Regions from separate parts of the Homo sapiens genome. Here regions 2, 3, 4 and 5 are each linked to region 1. The links are contacts of gene promoters, found by promoter capture Hi-C in blood cells and fetal thymus (Javierre and others, 2016). All regions are on one chromosome and are shown on one strand. The core of a region is centred on a gene start or on the middle of the fragment in contact, and the rest is flanking DNA. Distances in the headings are between cores, read along the strand shown. Region 1 holds the start of CD1D (CD1d molecule). Region 2 overlaps OR6P1 (olfactory receptor family 6 subfamily P member 1). Region 3 has its middle 29 kb from the start of OR10R2. Region 4 has its middle 33 kb from the start of OR6Y1. Region 5 overlaps LOC107985213 (a long non-coding RNA gene).

What was found. Contacts are between HindIII fragments. The CHiCAGO score rates a contact against its expected background, and 5 or more counts as called.
Region 2: a fragment that was not itself captured here is called in contact with the fragment with the promoter of CD1D in region 1 in 1 of 17 cell types (fetal thymus); the score reaches 5.1 in fetal thymus.
Region 3: a fragment that was not itself captured here is called in contact with the fragment with the promoter of CD1D in region 1 in 5 of 17 cell types (fetal thymus, monocytes, M0 macrophages and 2 more); the score reaches 8.2 in fetal thymus.
Region 4: a fragment that was not itself captured here is called in contact with the fragment with the promoter of CD1D in region 1 in 1 of 17 cell types (fetal thymus); the score reaches 5.7 in fetal thymus.
Region 5: a fragment that was not itself captured here is called in contact with the fragment with the promoter of CD1D in region 1 in 6 of 17 cell types (fetal thymus, M1 macrophages, M0 macrophages and 3 more); the score reaches 11.8 in fetal thymus.

The regions. Positions count from the first base shown.
Region 1 is chr1:158,179,035-158,182,503 of GRCh38, reverse strand. It overlaps CD1D (CD1d molecule), which reads right to left and starts at 1,609. Exons shown (of 6, transcript NM_001371762.2): 1 at 1,342-1,609; 2 at 783-1,049; 3 at 194-472. The coding sequence starts at 1,402. RefSeq lists an enhancer at 1,079-1,138 and a silencer at 2,551-2,600. The HindIII fragment of the contact is 7,344 bases long and covers 1-3,205 here.
Region 2 is chr1:158,560,748-158,563,930 of GRCh38, reverse strand. OR6P1 (olfactory receptor family 6 subfamily P member 1) reads left to right here. Exons shown (of 3, transcript NM_001160325.2): 3 at 305-3,183. The coding sequence starts at 327. The coding sequence ends at 1,280. Among named protein-coding and RNA genes, the nearest start is that of OR6Y1, 7.9 kb to the right of the region's middle. The HindIII fragment of the contact is 1,212 bases long and covers 806-2,017 here.
Region 3 is chr1:158,499,372-158,502,444 of GRCh38, reverse strand. No RefSeq gene overlaps it. Among named protein-coding and RNA genes, the nearest start is that of OR10R2, 29 kb to the right of the region's middle. The HindIII fragment of the contact is 6,418 bases long and covers 1-3,073 here.
Region 4 is chr1:158,519,739-158,523,066 of GRCh38, reverse strand. No RefSeq gene overlaps it. Among named protein-coding and RNA genes, the nearest start is that of OR6Y1, 33 kb to the left of the region's middle. The HindIII fragment of the contact is 695 bases long and covers 1,267-1,961 here.
Region 5 is chr1:158,482,673-158,485,755 of GRCh38, reverse strand. All of the region lies in intron 2 of LOC107985213 (a long non-coding RNA gene), which reads left to right. Among named protein-coding and RNA genes, the nearest start is that of OR10R2, 12 kb to the right of the region's middle. The HindIII fragment of the contact is 1,988 bases long and covers 456-2,443 here.

The DNA.
Region 1 (3,469 bases), core at 360-2,859:
TCATTAATTGAATTCATAGAACCCAAGAGGTGCTCAGTTGATGTCTGTGAAATGAATAAATACCCTCACCCCTTATCCAGCCCCTCCTGGGCCTTCCTCTTCTTTGAATGCTCAAAGGGATGAGAACCCTGGAATGGAAAAGCCCGTTTGGAGCCCTGAAGTGGAATGCAGGGAGTAAGGAAGGCAGGCTGACCTTGCTTCTTCAGTTCCGACTTCCCTGACTCAAGGAGGCCACTGACAAATTGGGGGCAGGTGCCATTAAGGAGCCACTGCACTGTTTCCCTCGTCCACTTGTCCTGGTTGAGCACTTGAATGGCCAAGTTTACCCAAAGTGGGGCCTCTTGGGTTGGCTCCCAAGAAGTTCCTTGGAAACTCAGGATATCTTTTCCTTGAAATGCTACATGGAAGAAGTTATTTGAGGCGTTCCCAGGGTGCACCTCACAGCCAGCGGACACCTGGAGCTCCAAGGGATCTGTGGAGAGGAATGGAGAAAGATCAAAGAAGGGTTTAAAAGACTGGGAGAGATGAAAGAGAAGAAATTGATGTGCAGGTTATAATGGGGACCCAGACTTCAGGGAAAGGAAAGTAAGTGACCTGGAGTAGGCAGGAACGAGGGACACTTTGAGGAGTCAAAGCCTGGGACATCTCCAGGTAGAAGGGAAATCAGAAGAGGGTGGACAGAGCAGAGAATCTCATCAGGTGGTGCCACAGTCTCCCAGTTGAGTTTCTGTGGCCATTCTCTCCCCTTGGGTACCGGCCCAGGATCCTATCCCTCAGCTCACAGGATAAGCGTAGCATTTTGGCGAATTCCTTCACGTCCCTGGTGAAGCTGCTTCGATAAACCCGAAATATATGCTGCAGCGTCTCCCACTGCTGGTCGCTGAACGTGCCCTGGGACCAAGGCTTCAGAGAGCGGACGGTGTCCGAGTCGTTGCTCCAGCTGTGCGTCTGCAGCTCCCCCAGCCACGCCAAGCCGTCGGTGCGCGTCCAGCTGCTATTGGCGAAGGACGAGATCTGGAGGCAGCGGAGGGGGAAAAGCCTTTGCGGGACTGGGAGAGAATGAAGATTGGAGGCGTGTAGCAAGTGGCCGGGAGAGCAGCCAGCATAAAGAGAAGGAAGAAAGAAACAAGAGGAGATGAGCTTCAGGAGGCGGCTGATGCCAGCGAACTCTGTGCCGCGCTGCCTCTCCCCGGAGCCAGGGAGCAGCGAGTTTTCTACCTAGATCGCGCCAGTGCGTCCCGGGTCTCACCAGTCCCCATCAGGCGTTGCCCTCCCCGTCCCTACCCAGCTCCCTCTCTCCGCCCTCCCGCGAGTGCACTCAAGCGCCCTCGTTCCACCCACCTTCAGCGCTTCCCCAAGCCTGGAGGAGCGCCCAGAGCAGCAGAAACAGCAGGCACCCCATATCGCCCGGCGTGGGGACCTCGCGGAGCGCCGCTGCGCGCCGCCCTCTGACCTGCGCACTCTTCTCCCCCGCCGCTCAGCTCACGTCCCTTTCCGCTGGGTGCCAGCCAATTCCCAAGCCCAGACCCCGGCAGCCCTCCTCGCTGGGCTTGCCGGCGGTTTGCTGCTTCTGCCGAAGGGCGCCCTCGCCCTTAGCTGTGCGAGCTGCAAAGAGGTCGGGGTCCCAGGAATCCTGGCGCCGCCGCTCACTTCAGTAGGTTTCACAACCGGCGTGTCTCAATTTCCTGTTTCAAAGGAGACTTTGGGTCAACGTGTGGGACGCTTTACAACCATTATTTATGTTTTGGAAGCAGGACATAAGGTTGTGTCTGTGTTACAATTCCAACCATGGTAAAAATGCAAAGGGAAAAAAGGATCAAAGTCCTTGCTTTAGCAGTACATGTCTCTAGGTGGAAAGACTATGAGTGATCTTAATTTGCTTTACATCTTTATGTTTTCCAAAATTTCTCAAGTGCAAGTACCACATTTACAATAAAGTAAACGCATGAAAATTAATTTCCTCAGTTGCACATTGAGAGAACTGGATTAGGTTGGCTACAATTCTTTACAACTGTCATATCCCAGGATTCCTCCACCTCAGTGTTCCCTAGCCTCTCTTTCCTCCTGTCATGGTCCTTGCTCTCCCCTCCCCGGCCTCTGCTCTGTCTTCCCTGTCTCCTTTTTGGGGACGCGCCCCCAGACTCTCTTCCTCCTCTCCGCCCTAGGCTCTGCCGGCATACCTTCTCCTCTGGCTCCTGACTCATTCACTTTCCAAATATGCGCCTCTGTCTTAAACAGTAAGTGTAAGATGACAGTGTGTACCTGGACAGCCAACTCGCCACTTCTCACACTGAAAATAAGAAAAAGTGACCAAAAATCGTGGTTCTAAGCCTTAGCTCACCTGGAGGAAAAGACTCCTCTTTGGCAACTCAGAACCTGGGCTGCAGCCTGACACCTCCCTCTCCCTCACTCTTTTTATCCAATCTATCTCCAACTCATCTCTATTTCACTTCTTTTTGAATACCTCTTGAATAAATTCCTTTTTCTATATTTCCACCGTCACCATCACCCTAACCTTTTGACTGATCTCCTGAAGTAGCATTCTTGGGTAGAAAACAAAATCATTAGCACGGCCTGCAAGATTATGCGCCCTCTAGCCCTGGTGTCTACCTTTTGACATCACCTCACACCCCAGCATCATTTGCTCTGTACTGTAGCCTGGCTGTTAGCTTTCAGTTCCTCCACTATGCAAAACCTCTTCCTGACTAAGGTCTCTGCACAAAGTTCCCTCTACATGAAAGCTCTTGACCTTCTCCTCACCTCACCCCCTCCCAATGCCTAGTTATTTCCACTAAGGTATCAGTTCCAAGGTCACTTTCTCAGGGAAGTCTTTCCAGATCTGCCAGACTGTGTGACCCTAGGCAGGAGAAGTAGGGCAGTCCCAACCTCCACTGCTTGTACACTAACTGGCTTTGAGAAGCCATCCTCTCAGCATGTAGCAGAGTTTATAATTATAGAAATGGCCATATGTCTGTCTCCCTCTGTGTCCTCTTCTAAATCAGCTGGAGAGGTGCCAGAAGGCAAGGATCATGTCTCCATAATCTGATTCCTCCCATTCTGCTAACGTTAATGTTTCCCTTCTCCCATATCCTGTTGCAGCAAGAGTCCTAGAGAAAATAGGCTACTGCACCACACTCTAGGCTGGGATCTTGTAGACAGCCCTAACCCAGCCTATCTAATTATGTGTAATTTGCCCAAAAAAGCTTAAAATAACATAGTAACGTGTTCTTGTAACAAATAAGGTGTTAAATTATTAAATTTGGATACAAAATTGCCTAAATAATGGATAGGAGGGAAGCTATGAGAAATAAAAAGAAAAATAATTATATGACTCATGGGGCAATATTTTTAACTTTACTTTCTTCAAATTTCCAAGCTCCCTTTAAAAACTTGAACAGTTCTGTTTAGTTTTTGTGTATCTTAAAAATTTTAAGTGCTAACATTCTTGCACACTTAAAGACAAGAAGCT
Region 2 (3,183 bases), core at 162-2,661, 380 kb before region 1:
AAGGGATGTAAAGGAAGAGCATGTCCTGGACAAGAAAACAAGAATCAAAATGCCAAGCAGTTCTGAAATCACTCAGAAAGTATTTATCAAATACCCACTGTAGTTAAGATTGCTAGGTAATTGAGTACTCAGGTCTGTTAACTTTTCCTATAAGGTGAGAGAAAAAACAGCAAAGTGAAGAGGAAAAATGTTATAATAATTAATATGCCACTAAGCTCTTCAGTGGTTATAACCTGTGAGAGTATGTTGGTGGTTTGTTGCAGCTATCTTTCAAACCTCTTGTTCTTCCTGTGATTTATTTTAGGCACTCAAGTGGACAGAGAGCCATGAGAAATTTGAGTGGAGGCCATGTCGAGGAGTTTGTCTTGGTGGGTTTCCCTACCACGCCTCCCCTCCAGCTGCTCCTCTTTGTCCTTTTTTTTGCAATTTACCTTCTGACATTGTTGGAGAATGCACTTATTGTCTTCACAATATGGCTTGCTCCAAGCCTTCATCGTCCCATGTACTTTTTCCTTGGCCATCTCTCTTTCCTGGAGCTATGGTACATCAATGTCACCATTCCTCGGCTCTTGGCAGCCTTTCTTACCCAGGATGGTAGAGTCTCCTACGTAGGTTGCATGACCCAACTGTACTTCTTTATTGCCTTAGCCTGTACTGAATGTGTGCTGTTGGCAGTTATGGCCTATGATCGCTACCTGGCCATCTGTGGACCCCTCCTTTACCCTAGTCTCATGCCTTCCAGTCTGGCCACTCGCCTTGCTGCTGCCTCTTGGGGCAGTGGCTTCTTCAGCTCCATGATGAAGCTTCTTTTTATTTCCCAATTGTCCTACTGTGGACCCAACATTATCAACCACTTTTTCTGTGATATTTCCCCACTACTCAACCTCACCTGCTCTGACAAGGAGCAAGCAGAGCTAGTAGACTTCCTTCTGGCCCTGGTGATGATTCTACTCCCTCTATTGGCTGTGGTTTCATCATACACTGCCATCATTGCAGCCATCCTGAGGATCCCTACGTCCAGGGGACGCCACAAAGCCTTTTCCACTTGTGCCGCTCATCTGGCAGTGGTTGTTATCTACTACTCCTCCACTCTCTTCACCTATGCACGGCCCCGGGCCATGTACACCTTCAACCACAACAAGATTATCTCTGTGCTCTACACTATCATTGTACCATTCTTCAACCCAGCCATCTACTGCCTGAGGAACAAGGAGGTGAAGGAGGCCTTCAGGAAGACAGTGATGGGCAGATGTCACTATCCTAGGGATGTTCAGGACTGATATACAACAGGTCTTGGGAGAGGTGAAAATAGCAGAATCTTAATAGGGCCTCCTCAAGGAATCAGAATAGGCTTTAAGGGAACATAAATATAATTTGCCAACATTTTCTCTAAATATTGTCTGGGACCTTCTGATACAAATGAAACTTTATGAATCATTTATTTTTTACAGGGGTTTTCAAACTAAGGTTGGACTAGCTACAGAAGAATCACCTGGGAATTTGTTAAAATACAGATTCCCCCAAAAAAATATGTGGAGAGTCTTACTGAGTATGTGTGGAATGTAACCCTGCCGTGAATAATATTCAAAACTTCCTGGGAATTCCTATTTCATAGACAGTTTGGGATTCCCTAGTCTAGACCAAGCCCATTATTTCGTAAGTGAGAAAATATAATATGAGAAAACAAGGGAACTTACTGGTGGACATGCCAAGAAAAAAATTTGGTAGACTTCAGTGTAACAATTTCAAAGATCCAGATTCTCAAATCCCACTTTCATAAGAAACTACACAAGTAGGTTATACCCCAAGACCTAATTTCATATCATCTTATCTACAAAACTCATATTCACTGAAAGTCAAAGCAGAGAGAGATGCAGTGCTGATATTCAGCCATATATTCTTGACTCAATATGGCTAACTATCCTCTCCATCTCCCTTCTTTGAATCTCAGGGGCATGTAAAGCTGGTTGACCTAACAAATATTGACCAGGTAGTAGGTAAAATGTTCTAGAAAGCTTATATACAGATCTTCTCCTTCGCTATGGCCAGCACCTGTTTTAAGTAATTAGTGCCAGGGCTATACCGATAGTGAAATATTTTAAATTGTGTTCCTAGTCAAAGGATTGTAAGAACAGAAAATGCCTTCATAAGAAAGAAGATTGAAGAGCCATAGATAGGATGCAGATATCTCTATGGCAATTGGGATGTCTCAGGTTCATAGCCTGAATCATAGGTATTCTAGCAAGTTCCTTTGATTTTTGGAAAGTTACTTGAATTGTTCAGAGAAATTTTTCTTATCTTGAATCTAGGCTCATTTACACAAATTTCTGCATATTGAACCAAATTCAATGATTATTTAGATGTGGGATATGTGAAACAAAATAAATATGCAATAACAATAAATATGCATATTGGAACAAATTCCAGTAAACACGGATTGTTGGTCAGTGCACATTTGCCTATTCCGAGACAGATTTTGAGGGAGAAAAAGACATGTGTCCATCAATGCAAGCTACTTTATCAACAATCATTTTAGATTTTCCAGTATTAAAAACAAAATAACAATAAAAGATCTGATACTTAAAACAGTTTAAGTTGTTTTGTTTTCATAAAATTTCTAAATAGCCTTAGAAACAGCTCTGAACATAGCTCAATTTACATTACATTCTCCTCTCCTTTCATAGAATTATGAGAGACATGGAGTTCAGAATTCAGACCCTAGAACGAGCAAATTTCAATTTGATCCTGGCTTTACTAATAACAAGTTATGTGATCATAGGCAAGAAACTTTACATCTCTGCTCTTAGTTTCTCTTTGATAATAAAAATAATACCCTTTCCATCATATGGGCTTGTTGTGAATATTAAATAAATAACACATATGCGGGCAAAGGGTTAGCATTTTTTTTCTCTTTCCTTTTGGATAAATTTGATCTTGGATTAATTTCTAGTTCTGGTTCTCTAGAAACCTAATAAACATTACTACACAAAATTACTTATGGCACAAATTATCTCTGAGCAGCAAATGACCTCTGGACTGGGAGGATGATGAATGTATTAAGGATATCTAGTGGGAAATAATAGCTTCAAGCTACTTTTGTAACTTGGCATGTCTTTTGAGGGAATTCTAGAAGCTATGGATGCCCATGAAATTGTTACAAGTGATATAGGCTCTTACAGGGCT
Region 3 (3,073 bases), core at 170-2,669, 320 kb before region 1:
AAATTTCTAAGCAGCCAAGCATTCAAGATGTGGCCTGGCTGCTTCTAACAACCTAACTCAGATGTGGGCACAAAGGAATACCTTAAAGCTGAAACTTATATTTAAAAGGAAAGTAGAGAATAAAAGTTTGAGAAATCTGCAGCCTGGCAATGTGGCAAAGGAAGAAAAAGCTCTTGAGGGGAGAAGAATTCAAGCAGGTTGTGGAACAACCACTTTACTAAAGAAATTTGCATACTTAAGTGGGTCAGGCGTGGTGGCTCACGCCTGTAATCCCAGCACTTTGGGAGGCTGAGGTGGACGGATCACAAGGTCAGTAGATCGAGACTGTCCTGGCTAACATGGTGAAACCCCATCTCTACTAAAAATACAAAAAAAAAATTAGCTGGGTGCGGTGGTGGGCGCCTGTAGTCCCAGCTACTCTGGCTGAGGCGGGAGAATGGCGTGAACCTGGGAGGCATAGCTTGCAGTGAGCCGAGATCATGCCACTGCACTCCAGCCTGGGTGACAGAGCAAGACTCCATCTCAAAAAAAAAAAAAAAAAAAGAAAAAAAAAGAAATTTGCATACCTATGAAGGAGCCAAGTGCTGATAGTCAAGACAATGGGGGAAAAGCCTTGAAGGCATCTCAGAGACCTCTGTGGCAGCCCCTTCCATTAAAGGCCCAGAATCCCTACTGCCACACACACAGCTTCATGACACTGCTCCCTGCATCCTGCTGCTCCAGCTTCAACTGGGGCTCAAAGGGGCCCAGGTACTGCTCAACATGCTACTTTGGAGAGTTCAAGCCACTGTAAGCCTTGGCAATTTGCACATGATTTTAAGCCTGTAGGCACACAGAGTTCAGAGTGAATGAGAATTTGCACCATCTGCCTAGATTTCAGAGGACATATGGAAAAGCCTGAGTGCCCAGACAGAGGCCTGCTGCAGGGGTGGGGAACCCCACAGGGAACCTCTACTATGGCAATGCAGAGGGGAAATGTGGGTTTGCCCCCCGCCCCAGAGTTCCCACTGGGGCACTGCCTAGTGGAGCTGTGAGAAGGGGACCGCCATCCTCCAGACCCCAGAAAGGAAGATCCACTGTCAGCTTGCCCTCTGCACCTGGAAAAGCCAAGAACACTCAACACCAACCCGTGGAAACAGCCATGGGTATTCAACCCTGCAAAGCCATAGGGATACAGCTGCCCTAAGCCTTGAGAGCCATGACTGACACCTCTCTGAGGAGCTTGCAGCAGTGTGACCTGGATGTAGAATATGGAGTCAAAGGATATTATTTTGGAGCTTTAAGATTTAATGACTGCCCTCCTGGCTTTAGGACTTGCTTGGGGCCTATAGCCCCTATTTTTTTGGCCAATTTCTTTCTTTTAGGATAGCAACGTTTACCCAATACCTGTATCCCTATTGTATCTTGGAAGTAAATAACTTGGTTTTGATTTTATAGGTTCATGAATGAAAGGGACTTTCCTTGTCAAAGATGAGACTCTGGACTTCGGACTTGTGAGTTAACACTGGAACAAGTTAAAACTTTGGAGGACTCTTAGGAAGGCATAAATATATTTTGCAATGTGAGAAGGACATAGATTTGGGAGGAGCCGGAGAAATATTGATATAGTTTGGATATTTGTCCCCACACAAATCTTACGTTGAATTGTAATCACCAGTGCTGAAGGTGGGAGGTGTTTCGGTCATGGGGGTGAACTTCGCATGACTTGGTCTATTTTTATGATAGTGAGTAAGTTCTCACAAGATCTTGCCATTTCAAAATTTGCAGCACCTTCCCCCAACTCTCTCTCTCCTGTTCTGGTCATGTGATGTGCCCGCTCCTGCTTCACCTTCCACCATGATTGAAAGTTCCCTGAGCCTTCACCAGAAGCCAAGTGGATGCCAGCACCATGCTTCCTGTAAATTCTGCAAATCATGAGCCAACAAAACCACTTTTCTTTATAAATTACCCAATCTCAGGTATTTCTTTATAGCAATGCAAGAATGGCATAATATATGATTACAGTTACCAATACCTTTTGATCAGGGGGTGGATTCATGTTAAATGTTCTTATCACACACAAAAAAAGTCAGTGTTGACCTAGTTGAAAAACTAGCTTATTTGTGACTCATGCTATATTAAAAAACAACTACTGAATAAATCAAGAGTGCTATTGTTTTTTCTGAGTGAAATTGTAATTGACCTATGTAACCCTTGTTTCAAATGTCCTTGTTAGAATTTTCAGAAAAATTTTAGTGGAGTATATTTTATAAACATCTCCTGACATTAACATAATTCTAGGGCTCATAGGGATGAATAAATCTAAATTCTGTCAAAATTTTAAAAAGAAAGAAAATTAAGAATGTAATTGCCTTTTAGCTCCAAATCTACCTTTACTTGTCCTGATTGTGTTACTGGAATGTTTCTCCTTTACCAGCAGACATGATGTTAAGCTCTTCTGTAGAAGGCGTGAAGGGACACTGAAGTTAAAACGGAGTTCTCTTCCCATTTCTGGCTGCTTTCATCTGCCTGGACATGCTGTGTGTGTGAAGTCTAGTAACAAGTAGGACGCCCAGTAGTGCTACTTCCCAGGCAGTACCATCATCAAAGGTATTTTGCCAGAAGGTTGCAAACAGAAGCATCCTCCCATAGATGCCCCCCACCCACAGAGTACTTCAGAGAGTGGTTTTCCAGCAAGTTCTAAAGTATAGCTCTTCCTTATGGATGGCTTCCCATGAGGACTAAGAGGGCAGAATCCAGAAGGCATTACATTGATTTCAAGAAATGTTTATTAAGCTATACTTTTAGTATTAGTATAAAGATGAACAAATAGATTAATGGAACAAAACAGAACACTCAGAAATAGAAACACATATGTATAATTAATTTTCTACAAAGCCTCAAGGCAATTTAATGGTAGAAGAATACTCTTTCCAATAATAATGCATTTGGATAGAAAAGAATCTTGAAATTTTTTCACACCATTTACAAAAATTAACTAGAGATGAATCACATCCTGCTTGTAAGAACTAATATTATTAAAAAGAACATTAGATAGAACCTTAGTGAGCTTGAATTTTTCAGAAACTTATTA
Region 4 (3,328 bases), core at 365-2,864, 340 kb before region 1:
ATTTGACTATTTACTTTTACTAGTGGCTTTTTTAACTATTAACTTCTTAAAAATGTTTCATGTTATCTATTTCTTTATTTTAGAGATGTGATGTCGCTATGTTACACAGGCTGGTCTTACACTCCTGAGGTCAAATGATCCTCCCACCTTGGCTTCCCTAAGTGATGGGATTACAGGCATGAGCCACGGCACCTGGCTTTAACATCTTTTTGTTACAACTTGAAGAACTCTAGTATTTTTTTTTTTTTTTTTTTTTTTTTTTACATTTTACTTTAAGTTCCGGGATACAAGTGCAGAATGTGTAGGTTTGTTACATAAGTATATGTGTGCCATGGTGGTTTGCTGCACCTACCAACCCGTCATCTAAATTTTAAGCCCTGCATGCATTAGCTATTTGTCCTAATGCTCTCCCTCCCTCCCCTTGCCCCCCAACCCCACACGGGCCGTGGTGTGTGTTGTTCCCCTCCCTGTGTCCATGTATCCTCATTGTTCAACTCCTACTTATGAGTGAGAACATGCAATGTTTGGTTTTCCATTCCTGTGTTACCTTTGTCTGAGTATGTCTTTATTTCTGCTTCATTTCTGAGAGAGATTTTTTACGTATAGTATTCTTGGGCAGTTTTTATTTTTTTCTTTCTGCTCTTTGGCTATATCATCCCACACCATCCGGGCATATAAAATTTTTTTTTTTAGGTTTTGTTTTGTTTTTGCCAAGTCTGCTGATATCCTTAAAGGGGTTCCCTTTTAGGTGACAAGTTTCTTTTTACTGCTGCTTTCAAAAGTCTCTTTTTGTGTTTGACTTATAATAAGTTGATTATAATGTGCTTCAGAGTGTTACTGTTGGGGTTGATATTGTTTGGACATTTTGATTTCCATGAAACTGTATTGAGTCTATGTCTCTCCCATGATTTTGGAAGTTTTCAGCCAGTATTTCTTTAAATAAGCTTTATGCCTCTTTATTTGCTTCTTTTTCCTTCTGAGACACCGGTAGTTTATTATTGTTTTTCTAATTTCAATTCATTTTCTATGTGCATTTCCTTGCATTTCTTCAAGATCCTTAAGATGGTTATTTTGAATTCTTTCTCAGGCAATTCCTAGATCTCTATTTCTTTGTGATTTACTACTGAAGCTTTACTAGTTTCTTTTGGTGGTGTCACATTTGCCTAATTCTTCATTATCTGTATAGATTGCATTGATGTCTGCGCATTGATGTCTGAATAAACATCTTTTCTGGCATTTAAACACTGCTTTTGGCAGATAAAAGCTTTCTCCTGTTGAGCCTCTATGCTGGTGAGATTGCCCCCAGGATCCTAGTAAAGTGGGTTTCGAGCTAGATCATGTGGCTGCCTCTTCATCTACAATGGGATCTGTGCTTAATAGACCTGTTACCAGGGCCTCCAGTGGGTATGGATTCTGTCTGGTTCCCCCCGGGTGGACTGAATTACCTCCAGTACATTGGGCAGTAGGGTTGGTGCTAGAATGAGGATCCATTTCAGAGTCCACAGATGGTAGGCCTGTTACTAGGTTTGTGGATGGGTATGGTTTCCTCCAGGTCTTTGGGAGAGCTCCCATTAAGTGACTGGGTAGGTCCCTTTGCAGGCAGTACTTGTCCTGGCCTACAGTTGAGAGGAGATGAATATAAGTCACAGGGCTGCAGTAAAGACAAAGATCTGCAGGCCTGCCTCTGAGGTCAAGGTTTGGTGTATCCCCCATTTGGTCCCTGGTCAGGCAAAACTGCCCTCAGACCACACCTGAGAGGGGATGAATCCAAGTTACAAGGCTGTGTCAGGATCCTCTGTGAGACTGATGGCAGCAGGTCTGCCTCTGAGGGTCATAGACAAGCTCGTCCTTCTCTTGGTTCTTGAATGGACAAGCCTACTCTCAGACCACAGCTATTAATGCCTGGAGTTGAGTTTCAGAGCCATTTCAAGTTCCACACCTGGGACCGAGGTCAACAAGCTTGTTTTCTGAAGCACTAGTATATGTGACTCCTCCTGGGCTCCTTGACTGATGGCAAAATAAGGCTGTATCCAAGTCCACAATAAAACAAGGCCATTGCTAAGTCTAGAGCTGAGACCACTGTTGGCAGGTCTGCCCCCTCAAAATGGCTTTCCTACATCTTGATCTTCACTAGGGTTTCACAATCTCCTATCTAAATCTCAAGGCTCCCACAAAGAGGTATTTTCCCATTGATGGCTGTGAACTTATTGCTGCTGTCAAGGAATGTAAGCAGTGGGCTTTCTGTTTCACCATCTTTCTCTCCTTTTGTCTCTCACTATTTTTAAAATTTTCTTTTTATCATTAGTTTTTAATAATTGAATTCTTATATTCTTATATGTTCTAGCATAATTTTGGTTTTTATTCTGCTTGAAATTTCTGACATTTTTGGGTTTGGGGGTTTATAAGGGATCTCAATTACATGAATATTTGACAGCTTGGCACTTTACCGTAGTCATCAAGCCTCTGTTTTTGTTTTGTTGTTGTTGTCGTTATTTGGGGTTTTTGAAGTTTTGCTATAATTACAGGTTGTTTTGTTGGCTATGTGTTTAAGTTAATTGACCTTTTCTTTGGCAGTGTCTGCAGCTAATCCTGCTTAATGTATTTTTAAAATTCAGATAATATTTTTTATTTCTATTAATTATACTTGATGGCTGTTGGGAATATAAACTCTTCTTTGTGTGAACTCTAGGACTTGTTTAGTCTATTGCTTCCAGTAGTTGTTCATCTTCTACAAGAAGTTTACTCTAACAAATGTACGAATTAGCACTCTTCCAAAGATTTGAGGAGATCCCTTTGCAGCTATTAGACCTCCCTATGTGTGTGCTAATCCCTTCTCTTTAGTTATCTGTCTTGAAATGGCCCCTTTGTCTTCTCTATACTCTAATCTTTATCTAATCTAGTCTCCTTAATACTCTATGTAATCTAGTCTTCTCTATAATCTTTATCTAATCTAATCCTTAATTCAGTAAGACTACTTGATATATTTTGGTGTCCTCTGCTGCCTCTCTCTCTTTTTCTCTCTCTTTCTATATATAAACACATAAATATACATACATGTATATACACATATAGAGCTTGTATTATTCCATCAGTTATGTCTCAGTATTATCCAGTATTATCTTGGTGTTATTATATTTTTAAATATAAGAAGCATATAAATTTCTATTTAAAATACTTTAACATATTTTTTCTCACTCCATCATGGTCACACAATGTCCAGTACTAAAGTCCTATGGAATTACTTATGTTCAACTGGATAATACTGAGACATAAGTGTTGGAATAATTCCAGCTGAAGTTAATCATGGGCTGTTTTTTCTCTTTCACTC
Region 5 (3,083 bases), core at 200-2,699, 300 kb before region 1:
TTGAGGAAGCCCAAACAGCCCTTGGAGAATCTATATGGTAAAAAACCAAGGCTCCTGGCCAATAGCCCCAGCTGAGCAAACAACCAATAGCTAACACGAATAAAACAGGCACATAAGTGAGCAATCTTGAAAGTAAATCCTTCAGCCCCAATTGAATCATCCAACCTGCTGGGACAAAGAACAAATTCCAGCTGTCCCCACTGAGCCCTGCCAAAATTGCAGACTTGTGTGCAAAATAATTACAGCTCATTTAAGCAACTAAAGTTGTAGAGAGTTGATTATGCAGCAGTAAATAATGAGAACAGAATTTGGTATCTAAAGGCAGGGTGCTGTTATAATCAACATTTAAAACATTTGGCATTAATTTTGCAATTGGTGGTATAAATAATCCATAAGGACTTAAGGAGTCTCTTACTAAAAGGTGAAAGGATCATAAGGCAACTCTTGGTAAAGCTTTGAAGCACAGAGAGAAAAATATTTGAAGGACAGAGAGGAAACTGTTATCATACTTAGGTAAAACATGGATACTTATTATCCATTGCTCTAAAGTTTGGCAGCAGGACCACATGCTACAGCCTGGAAAATAGACTATTTAGTAATCTCATTATCTTCCTGGGTAAATTTCTAGGAAGACTATAGAAAATTCCAACCAATGATAAAATATGAAAAGAGAGTAGACAGCAGGATACTAGAGGAAGGGAATAGTAGAGAAAAGGGAAGGATAGGTGGAGATTTGCTAAAGGATACAAAATTACAGCTAGATAAAGGAATAAGTTACAGTGTTCTTTGCTACTGTAGGATGACTATAGTTAACAGTAATGTATAGATTCAAATTGCCAGAAGGAGGGTGTTGAACATTCCCAACATGAAGAAATGATAAATGTTTGAGATGATGATATGCTAATTACCTTGATCTGATCCCTATAACATTATTTATATCAGAATATTACTATGCACCTAAGGAATATGAACAATGACTATTTGTCAATTTAAAAGTACATAATTTTTTAAAGTTTCTTAAGTTTCTGAGAATTTAGAGGAAACAGAAAGAAACAAAACTTGTTGGGTTTGCAAATAAAGATGTTTCTCATGCACAGTCTCTCTCAACAAAGACTCTCAAGGTACAAAATGGCTTCAAGGAAGAAATCAAATCCAAGGTGCTATCAGGAAACCAATGCCTCAGGGTAAACCTCTTAAGAATGTAGCTGTAATACTTTTTGTTAGAACTCAGAAATATTTTAGGCTATACCCAACAAGATTTATAAATATCCTAAGGGCCTGACTCCTTAAAGTTAAGCAATAAGTCTTTTTAAGAATCTTAAGGGAATTGCCATACAGCAGTTATTAATACTGCTACCTCACAAGTGACCCATAATAAAGAAATGAATATGGATGTGACTTTTATCTAATGGAATTAATTTATAAACTGAAACATAAGAAACTCACCAAGTTTTAAAAAGGCATTCTATCAACATGTGCTAAAGGCTACAGAGCAAACAGAAATGAATAGACCTTTGGACCCTCAACTTCTTCCATGGAGGTATCAGACTAAGAAATGACATGTCTGCAAATTGTAGCTATGTCTTGCAGATAAAAAAGGATGATCAGAAAGTGGGGAAATGGCATCACAGGTTAGATCTAAGAGTCATGGAATTCATTCCCAGAAAATAGGACTGGCAACAGTGTCCAGATGAATTTCAGAATTTCTATGGACCAATGACTGTGATGTGTCTAATTTCCTCCTTTTTCACAAGGGAATGTCCATTGCTATTCCTATGCCCATCACATCATTGTCTTTTTGGGTGTCAGGAGCAGACAACCTGCTGGTATTATGCCTTAAAAGACTAGCAGCTTCCTCTTTCTGTTTCTTGGAATGTTTAGTCTTTGAAACCAGTCATGATGTTGTGAGAAAGTTTATAGAACCCCATGAAAAGGGCCACATGGAGAGATACTGACTCTCACAACCTATAGCCCTGACTCAGCTCCACTACAAATCAGCATCATTTTGCCAGCCGTGTAAATGAGCCAAATGGAAGTGGGTCCCTCAATTCTAGTTGAGCAGCTCAGTTGACATTGTATGGAGTTAAGACAAGCCAATCTTATAAGCCCTCTCCCATTTAAGAGATTAATGAGCAAAATAAATTATCATTGTCATTGTTATTTTTAATTACTGTTATGGGGGACATAAATATTGCTACACTTTCACATGTAGTTTCAGATGTTTTTCTTAGCTAGACCAAGAAGTCATTTATTCAATTAAAGTTAAGAGACATGTATTAGTTATCTCCTGAATGTCAGGGATATAAAAGACATTTAGGAGGAGTTAATGTATCGGTATAATAAATTACTTCCTTTCACGTTGTTGATTGTCCATTAGAGAAAATAAGATATGTACATAATCAGCTCAATATGTCAGAGCTCAGTAAGAAGTATAAGTAAAGCTTACAATGCTATGGTGTTTTGAAGAATGGAAATCAGGTAATACTTCATGAAACAGGTGAAAATAAAAAAAACTTTGATGGTAGACATTGGACAAAGAAGGAGATAATCTTTTCAAATAAGACCTTTTTTGATTCTTAGGCCGGTACAGGACCATTCTCCATAGGATCCCACTTTATAAGCTGTAAGTAAAGAAATGTGGTGCACAGAATGGCAAATTTATGTTTATCTTCTACTGCCTTTTTAATTAATGATGGCTATAGTATGATGATGGCAAACAAGGCCATTTTGTCACTGCAAATTATTTTCCTGTAGAAGTATTATTCTACTGTTTATTATTATAATATCTTTTAAACATAATTTTAACTCTTTCTTGTTTCTACTAATAAAAAAAGGAATTCAAGAGACCTATATGCCAGGATGGTAGGAAACTAGAGCCATATAGTAAGATAGAAAAAAATGTTTTGAATCACATTCATGTCGGCATGCTGCAGAAAATATTCTATACATTAGTGTTGGACACAAAAATCAGCTACTTTTCATGAAAGTTGATCAAGATGTTAAGTGTAGTTTATTTCTGAAACTTCCTGCTTACTTTTCATTTCTTTTCACAGTATAGAATTTAGTTTTCCTAATGTATACAT